Regions from separate parts of the Homo sapiens genome. Here region 2 is linked to region 1. Evidence: promoter capture Hi-C in 16 types of primary human blood cells and fetal thymus (Javierre and others, 2016). All regions are on one chromosome and are shown on one strand. The core of a region is centred on a gene start or on the middle of the fragment in contact, and the rest is flanking DNA. Distances in the headings are between cores, read along the strand shown.

What was found. The method cuts DNA at HindIII sites, captures the fragments that hold promoters and counts their contacts. A CHiCAGO score of 5 or more calls a contact.
Region 2: a contact is called between a fragment that was not itself captured here and the fragment with the promoter of SPX in region 1, in 1 of 17 cell types (megakaryocytes). The highest score is 6.1, in megakaryocytes.

What each region holds. Positions count from the first base shown.
Region 1 is chr12:21,524,083-21,528,546 of GRCh38, forward strand. SPX (spexin hormone) reads left to right here and starts at 2,214. Exons shown (of 6, transcript NM_030572.4): 1 at 2,214-2,396; 2 at 2,804-2,884; 3 at 3,053-3,110; 4 at 3,645-3,707. The coding sequence starts at 2,391. The HindIII fragment of the contact is 15,623 bases long and covers 1-4,464 here.
Region 2 is chr12:21,662,407-21,666,870 of GRCh38, forward strand. It overlaps KCNJ8-AS1 (KCNJ8 antisense RNA 1), which reads left to right. Exons shown (of 5, transcript XR_007063241.1): 1 at 1-365. Among named protein-coding and RNA genes, the nearest start is that of KCNJ8-AS1, 2.3 kb to the left of the region's middle. The HindIII fragment of the contact is 1,198 bases long and covers 1,776-2,973 here.

The DNA.
Region 1 (4,464 bases), core at 964-3,463:
CCCAAAAAGTATAACAAATCTTCTATCTTATCTTTTAAAAAAAAAAAAAAGATTTCACAGGCCAAGCATGCCTATAATCCCAGAGGTTTGGGAGGCTGACATGGGAGGACCAGTTGAGGACAGGAGTTTCAGCCCAGCCTGAACAACATAGTGAGACCCTGTCTTTAAAATAACAATAACAATAATAATAACAGTAAAAAAAATTCTCATTTTTTCCTTTCCCTTCTTTTGTGACATCTGTAAAAGAGATTGTTTATTCTTGGCTTTAATTTATCATATCATATTCACTATTCAACCAACTCCAATCTTGCTTCTATCCTCAAAACCATCATATTCCAAATCCAGTGGATGTTTCTTGGAGCTAATGTTGCTTGACCTCCCAATACTACTGGATCTTCACTTGGCTTCCATGATATCAGGGTCCCCTGGAATTTCTCCTTTCTTTCTGACTCTACCTCAACCTCCTTTTCTGGCTCTTCCTCTGCTCATTCTCTATGCGTTTGTTTTCATAGCTCTGTCCCTGCCACTCTTCTTTAGCCCTATTCACTCCCTAAGTGTTGTGTTTAATCTCATCCCTTTACTGGTTGTAAAATTCTTAGAATTCTTAAAATTCTTAAAGCTAATCATTTCTGCCCCCCACCAAAAAGAAAATCTGTAGGCTGGTGACCTCTTGGCTGACCTCTATCAAGTTTTGCATTTCTAACCTTCTATTTTGTACTTGTACTTGGATATTTTTAATATACATTTTAATTTTAATATGCCTATATGGCAAGTGTTAATTTCCCTCTCATAACTTGCTTCTTAAGAAGTTTCTCTAATTTCAGTAAATTACTTCATAATTTACCCACAGTTTTATCCATAAACCTAAGAATCATCCTTGATTTATTTTTCTCACACTTTCATATCCCTTTTATATACAAGTTCTATATTTTCTACCTCCACAACATGTATTCCAAATTCATTTACAGCTCTTCTTTCCCTGTGTGTACCATCCCAGTGTAAGCCATCATCATCTATTGCTTATAATCGTATTTCCACATCAACTGGCCCATTTCTTCTTCTCCAATCTCATTTCAAAGCACCTCCCCCGTTCACCCACACAACGCTGCCTCCATTGGCCTCTTTCCTAGTCCCCAAGCAAGTCATGCTCTTTGCTGTCCACAGATTTTGCTTTTCTTTCTTCTATTGAGAATGCCTGGAATACTAATTCCTGCCCAGCTTCTCCCATTACTTCACCTTATCCTTCAAGACTACCCTCTGTTTTTAACCTTCCCTAAAGTAGCCCACCACTTATCCTATCACATCACCTTGCTTACTTTTACTTAACAATTTAAAACATTCTGTAGTTACAGTAGTCCCTGCTTATCCACGGTTTCACTTTCCATGGTTTCAGTTACCCATGGTCAACTACAGTCTGAAAATATTAAATGGGAAATTCCAGAATTAATAAGTTTAAATTGTGAGCTTTAAATCTGAGTAGGGTGTTGAAATCTCTCACTGTCCAGCTCCAGCCCACCCAAGACATGAACCATCTTTTTGTCCAGCATGTCCATATGTAAACACCACTCTCCCATTAATCAGTTAGTAACCATCTTGGTGAACAGATAAAAAAAAATAGTATAATAAGGCATATACGTATCAGTGGTTTCAGGCATCCACTGTGGGTCTTGAAACATGCTCCTCCACCCCACACACACCTACGATTAAGGGGTAACTACTGTGTCTTATTTATCTATTCATCAGTTTACTGTGTACCTTAACTAGTAGGTAACTTAGATCAAAGCAGAGACCATGTCTTTTCAGTGCATGGCTGTGTCCCTTGAAATACAAGGATTGTGTGTCTCATAGGCACTCAATAAATATTTGCTAAACAACAGAATGAATTGATAATTAAGTGAATGACTGATGTCAAATTCCATTGAGATTCCCAAACCTTTTCATACATCTTTAGCCATCAGTGATAGACTGATGGCTAGTTACCCAAGAAAAGTTTTCTGATTTATTCTTTTACTTTTGATTCTGCCTTGGACTATTGATTGTTTTCATTAATAATAATAATAACATGTTACTTTGGGCAGCTAGTAGGAAAAGCAAGGCCAATGATGCTGACACATTCTGAAGGCCTCCTGGGTGATGCAATCAGTATTTAAACAAATAATTTCTGCCCATCAATCATTCCTCTACTTCCTGCAATGAAGCTCCCTGGAGGAGTCATCAGATTCTCAATCTTGCTTGAAGACTGACAAGATGTCCCTGTGGACTCCCAAACTCTACTCCAGATGGGGAGGTGCCCTTAACACCAAGATTTTAAAAGCTCCAATTTCAGAGCAAGAGTCGAAAACTCACAGATAAAGTTATAGTTATTTCAGGGTTCTGAAAAGACGCAGAACATGAAGGTAAGTAAAGGCTTTATTAACTTGAGACTTCTTAGCTATTTTTTAAAACGTTTTATAGCATTTTACCTATTTCATGTTTAATAAGGATTTTAGAGTTTAAAGGATATTTGAACGATACGCCTTTAGAATAACAGAATCATTTGATTTTACTAAGAAAAAAATTCACGTATTTACTTATTCTTCATTTGGGTGAAGTAATACAAATAATATGTTTCTAAATACGTTTTTTCAAGTGGACTCTTTGTGAATTAACTAGAAGGTAGAAGGGAAACACCTCCAGAAAACTGAGTATTAAAACAGAATATTGCGAGAAGTAAGGGGGTTTATAATTGTCCAGGCGTCAAGGAAGGAAGCAGAAGATCCTATTGGCACAGAAATGACCCTTTCTGGTTGATCGCTTCATATAGGGACTCAGAAGTCTGGCAGCAACAACCTTGGCTCTTTTCCTGGTGTTTGTTTTCCTGGGAAACTCCAGCTGCGCTCCGCAGGTAATCAAATGCAAAATAAAAAATTTTAAAACAATGCGCACTGTGTGTCCACTCTGCTCTTTCTTTCTTCCTTCTTGTTTTATTCTCTTCTTTTTCCTTTATTTTGCTGTAATAGAGGACTGAGCTGCAATGTTTTATTAACTGCTCTTCCCTTCCCCCGGGCTATAGAGACTGTTGGAGAGAAGGAACTGGACTCCTCAAGCTATGCTCTACCTGAAAGGGGCACGTAAGTTCCAAATATTTCGCTCTTCCTACAATAATGGAAGACCCCTAGGAGTCAGGAACAGATAGATGGAGAGTTATGGAGAGAGAATAATGTCGAGTTTATTCCCTTAAATCATCGAGGCCATCAAAGAGACCGGTAGGTGAGGGAGGGGTGGGAGAGGGGAAGAGTCCCTGATTATTGGAAATCCTCCATCCTTATTAGAAATTCTCCATCCAAAACTGGAGGGTTGCTTCTCTTGGTCCAAATGGGGACTCGGGTTGCCTGGGAAATATCTCAGTAACCCGACCTCCGCTCCAAAGCGCCCTTGCGGCGTCCGGTCAGGCGCGGGGCTTTCCTCCAGAGCTCCAGGGCCCCTGGCTCAGCCCGGGGTTGCGCTGGGAGCGCTGGAAACTCGGCAGCCCCGCGCGACCCTATCCTGGAGCAACCTGCCCCCTCCCCACGCCCGGGGACTGCGCTGTGCCGGGAGGAGCTGAGGTTTAAGCCCGGGTTGTCCCGGGCCAGGCTGTCGCTGAGCCCCAGGTCTCGTTTTTGCAGAGGGTCGCCGCTTCATCTCCGACCAGAGCCGGAGAAAGGACCTCTCCGACCGGCCACTGCCGGGTGAGTGACCAAGGGTGCAAGGGCGCTAGTCCTGCGCTTTTGGAATAGGATGGGGCGGGCAGGGCTTGCTCCGCGCTGGTGCCGAAAGAAAGCGTCTCCTCACCGGAAAGACGCGGCTCTGAGGCGCCCTCAGATACAGTCCGCCCGAGGGCAGCCCGGGTTGGCAGCAGCAGCAGCTGGATGCCGAGCGCCGGAGCTGGGAGCTCGCGCGTCCAGCCCCGCGCCAATGGTGGCAAGGGCGGCCCAGGCTGGCGCTGCGGCTCCCCAAGCCTTATTGGCTTGCGGCTGTTCAGCCAGCCCTCTGGCTGCCAGGGTGTGCAGAGGTCCCCAGGGAGTTAGGACCTGAGGTGCAGCTCAGAGGGGTAAGGCGAGATAGGAAGAACTATGCAAATGCTTCTAGAAATGTATCTGCGCGTTTGTGCAGGAACTTTACTCAGCCTCCTCTTAAACGCTGTTATTATTAAAATAAGAACTTACCTAGGAACTTCAAATGTATGCTTTTGTTTGACTAGAAAGAACTATCAAAGGTTCAAAATCAAAAGAGTAACATGCGGGCAGTTAAGGATGGGACCGGGGACTGTTCTTTTTCATGATAAACCTTTCCATCGTATTGTATTAACAAATAACAATACAATTTGATGAAATTGTAAAGATTGAAATGCTAAAATTAAAAAGTATACTTACTTGGAAAAATACCAAACACTGTTGAACACATAGTAGGTGCTTAAATTTTTGTTTAGGCTCTTCAAACATGCTG
Region 2 (4,464 bases), core at 1,125-3,624, 140 kb after region 1:
TGTCTTTATGAGCTGTAACATTCACCGCGAAGGTTTGCAGCTTCACTCCTTAAGCCAGTGAAACCACTAACCCACCAAGAAGAATGAACAAACAACTCCAGACGCGCGGCCTTAAGAGCTGTAACACTCACCGCGAAGGTCCGCAGCGTCTCTCCTGAGCTAGTGTGACCACGAACCAACCAGAAGGAACAAACTCCGAACACGCCGCCTTTAAGAACTGTAATACTCACCGCGACGGCTTTTAAGAACTGTAACACTCACCGCGACGGTCGGCGGCTTCATTCTTGAAGTCAGTCAGACCAAGAACCTACCAATTCCGGACGCACTACCCGGGGGACATGATAAATCTGGGAAGGGCACCTCAGGTAAGCCTTTGACTTGCTAGGGGTTCAGCCTTGCTAGAGTTATACAGAGAATAAAATATGCATGTATAGTGAATTATACACAGTTTGAAGTTCATAGTTTTTGTCTGAAAGTGAGCTTTCAGGCAGAGGAGCTGAAAGATCAGCAGAGCCCATTAGAAACCAGAACTGCCCCACTTCTTTCCACATGGTGTTCTTCTCATTGTCTGGGTGCTGCTTCTGGGAACAGAAGCACCTAGTCTACATTCTCTGGGCATTGTGTGAAGTCGTCTGATGGCATCTATATTTCCCCTTCCTGGAACCATGAACTATTATCCTTTCTGGTGCCAAGGACTGCAGTTGCAAATACTTACTTTCTTATATCAGAGATCCTGAAGGAGATAGTAGCTTTTCTATGTTCTAGCTGTACACATTTCAAAACACAGATTTTTTTTTATTTGTTTAGTTTATGTTTTAGAAAATAAAAGGTTAATCAGAATGCAAATGCTGGTAATAAAACAAACAGTCCCGGCCAGCTTGTAATCACAGCACTTTGGGAGGCCAAGGCAGGTGGATCACGAGGTCAGGAGATCGAGACCATCCTGGCTAACATGGTGAAACCCCGTCTTTACTAAAAATACAAAAAATTAGCCGGGCATGGGCGGGGTGCGGCGGTTCATGCCTGTAATCCCAGAACTTTGGGAGGCCGAGGCAGGTGGATCACGACGTCAGGAGTTTGAGACCAGCCTGGCCAAGCTGGTGAAACCGCATCTCTACTAAAAATACAAAAATTAGCCAAGCACGGTGGTGGGCGCCTGTAATTCCAGCTACTCGGGAGGCTGAGGCAGGAGAATCACTTGAACTCCCTAGGCAGAGGTTGCCGTGAGCCGAGATCATGCCACTGCACTCTAGCCTGGGCAACAGAGCAAGACTTTGTCTCAAAAAAAAAAAAAAAAAAAAAAATTAGCTGGGTGTGGTGGCATTTGCCTGTAGTCCTAGCTACTCAGGAGGCTGAGGCAGGAGAATCGCTTGAACTCAGGAGGTGGAGGTTGCAGTGAGCTGAGATCACGCCACTGCATTCCAGCATGGGTGACAGAGTGAGACTCTGTATCAAAAAAAATAAATAAAGGAAAAAAAAAAACAGTCCGCCGCCTCTCTCTCATCCCCAGTCCTGATCCTCAGAGCAACTACTCATTCTTTCTGACTTCTTGAGTTGTAGTCCGAAAGTCCAGCTGCTGATTCCTTTCTCTCCCTGTGCTCATTTAAAATATGCATGAGTATCTAGTCCTTTAAATATACATTAATTTGTGAGGTGGAAAGTGTTATTACTGAGATTTTTTTGCTAGAAAACCCTAGAGTTCACTTGACTAAAGTTTTGTTAGAGTCCTGCAAAGCAATACACATCCAGGAATTTGTATTATATGATTTGTGTAAAGCTTTCATTTATTGAAAATAGTACTATGTGCCAGGCATGCAATGCATTAACTGCATGTAATAATGTGCTCACATGAACCAAGTATAAGTAATGCTTACTTTACTTATATTAACTTACGTAATCCTCATTTCAACCCTATGTGGTGGGTACTTTTATTTTTCTTATTTTAAGGATATGGGGAAACTGAATCACAGAAGGTCAATAACCTGACCAAGATCACACAACTAGTAAGCAGACTCTCTCTCTCCCTCTCTCTCTCTCTCTCTCTCTGTGTTTAAATTTTTGTTTTTTTTTTTCCTGAGACAGGGTCTTGCGCTCTCACCCAGGCTGGAGTGCTGTGGTGCAATCTGTGCTCACTGCAACCTCCGTCTCCTGGGTTCAAGCGATTCTCCTGCCTTAGCCTTCTGAGTAGCTGGGATTACAGGTACCCACCACCATGCCCAGCTAATTTTTGTATTTATAGTAGAGACAGGGTTTCACCATGTTGACCAGGCTGGTCTCAAACTCCTGACCTCAAACTCCTGACCTCAGATGATCCTCCCGCCTCAGCCTCCCAAAGTGCTGGCATTACAGGTGTGAGCCACTGCACCCCGCCGGATCATTCTTAACATACAGATTTATACAGATTTGTTTCCTTTTAAAAAATGGTTACTAAATATTCAATCATTCAGAAACACCATGATGTATTTAACTGTTCCCATATTTTGAGACATTATGCTTTTTACTATGATAAATAATGTTGTATAGATATCATTGTACATTGTAGTCATCTGTATTTGTCATTGCTTGGGTAGGTCTCTGAAAGTGAAATTCCTGGGTAAAAGAGTAGAACAGTTTTTTGGAAGGGCTGTACCCTTTGATTCCAAACCCCATCTGCATATGTCTTACTATACTGTCATCATATTGCATATTACTAAATTTTATTTGTCCAGTTTGTCAGATGAAAAGGGTATTTGGTTCTCTTCTGCAATTATAGAGGCAGTAGGAAAAAAAGTGATGTTTTGTTATAAATTTGTATAACTATGATTATTGGTTGTGTATACTTTCACATTTTTTAAACTTTCCATTATCTGCTCCTCTACCAAAGTGAGCATTCTTCTTGTTTTGTTTCTCTACTTAGCAACTATTCACTTTACTTCTGAAAACAGCCTCGGGGTTTTCTATCCTCTCATCTCTTCCTCTCCTTAAATACATCAAAGCTTCCCAAAGGAAAAACCTATCTAAAACTGGAGCCAAACAAGGGGAATAAGACGAGAGACAGCAAAAGAGAAGCCAGTGATGGCATTCGAGTTTCTGCATCAAGAGCAACGTAAGCCGGGCGCAGTGGCTCAGGCCTGTAATCCCAGCAGTTTGGGAGGCCGAGGCGGGCAGATCACAAGGTCAGTTCAAGACCAGCCTGACCAATATGGTGAAACCCTGTCTCTACTAAAAATATAAAAATTAGCCAGGCATGGTGGGTGGTGGTGGGCACCTGTAGTCCCAGCTACTCGGGAGGCTGAGGCAGGAGAATCGCTTGAACCTGGGAGGCGGAGGTTGCAGTGAGCCGAGATCACACCACTGCACTCCAGCACTCCAGCACTCCAGCCTGGGTGACAGAGCAAAACTCTCTCTCAAAAAAAAAAAAAAAAAAAAAAAAAAAAGGCAACATAATGCAGCCTCGTCCCTAGGCTAGTTTAGGTAAGCAAACTTCACTGACGATAAAAGAGGTCCTAACTGATGTATTATTTTGACCAGTTTGAAATTACAATGTCATTGTTATTTCAATACTGATAAAAGAAAAACTCAGCCAAATTAAATTTAAAGGAGTTGAATTGAGCAATGAATGTTTTGCGAATCGGGCAGCCCCCCCAAATCTCAGCAGATTCACAGAGGCTCCAGCGCAGCCATGTGGTGGAAGAAGACTTACAGACAAAAAAAAAGGGAAATGACGTACAGAAATTGGAAGTGAGGTACAGAATGGCTGGATTGGTTACAGCTCGGTGTTTGCCTTATTTGAACACAGTTTTAACACTCATCAGTGTATGAATGGTTGAAGTATGGCCTCTGGAATGGCCAAGACTTAGCTATAGTTACAGATGCATACTCTGAAGTTACGTTTTCAATTTTGTCTGACTACTAAGCTAGGTTACAGTTCATCCACAAGGACTCAAATATAGAAGTATGGAGTCTTTCTCGGGCCATATTTAGTTTGCTTTAATAATATCAAAATACTAAAAGTAAGGGTGATTTTAAAAAACGTTTTATTTTGTGTTAATTTTAAACTCAGAATAAGTTGCCAAAACTGTTTGGTGAGTTCCCATGTATCCATCACTCAGCTTCCTCCCATAATAACAACTTACTTTATCATTGAGCTTGTTAATATCAGAAAATGAACACTGGTACACTACTGTAAGCTAAACTAGGGACCTTATTCAAATTTTAGCAATTTTAATATTAATATGAGTATTTTTTTAAAAATACACATTTATTCATGTTAAGCAATTTGTGCATTGTGGATAGATTGTTTTTCTAACTAGAAAGTAAATATTAAAAATACTTAAAAATATATCAGGCACTACCTAGGTTTTTAGGCAATATCAGTGGACTCAGGAGTTTATTTTACTTTTAGAGTAGAAAACGTTGGAGAGAACATTTGCCTCAGGCATTCTGAGAGTGGATTGAGCATTTACGTTAATTATTATGTCTTAC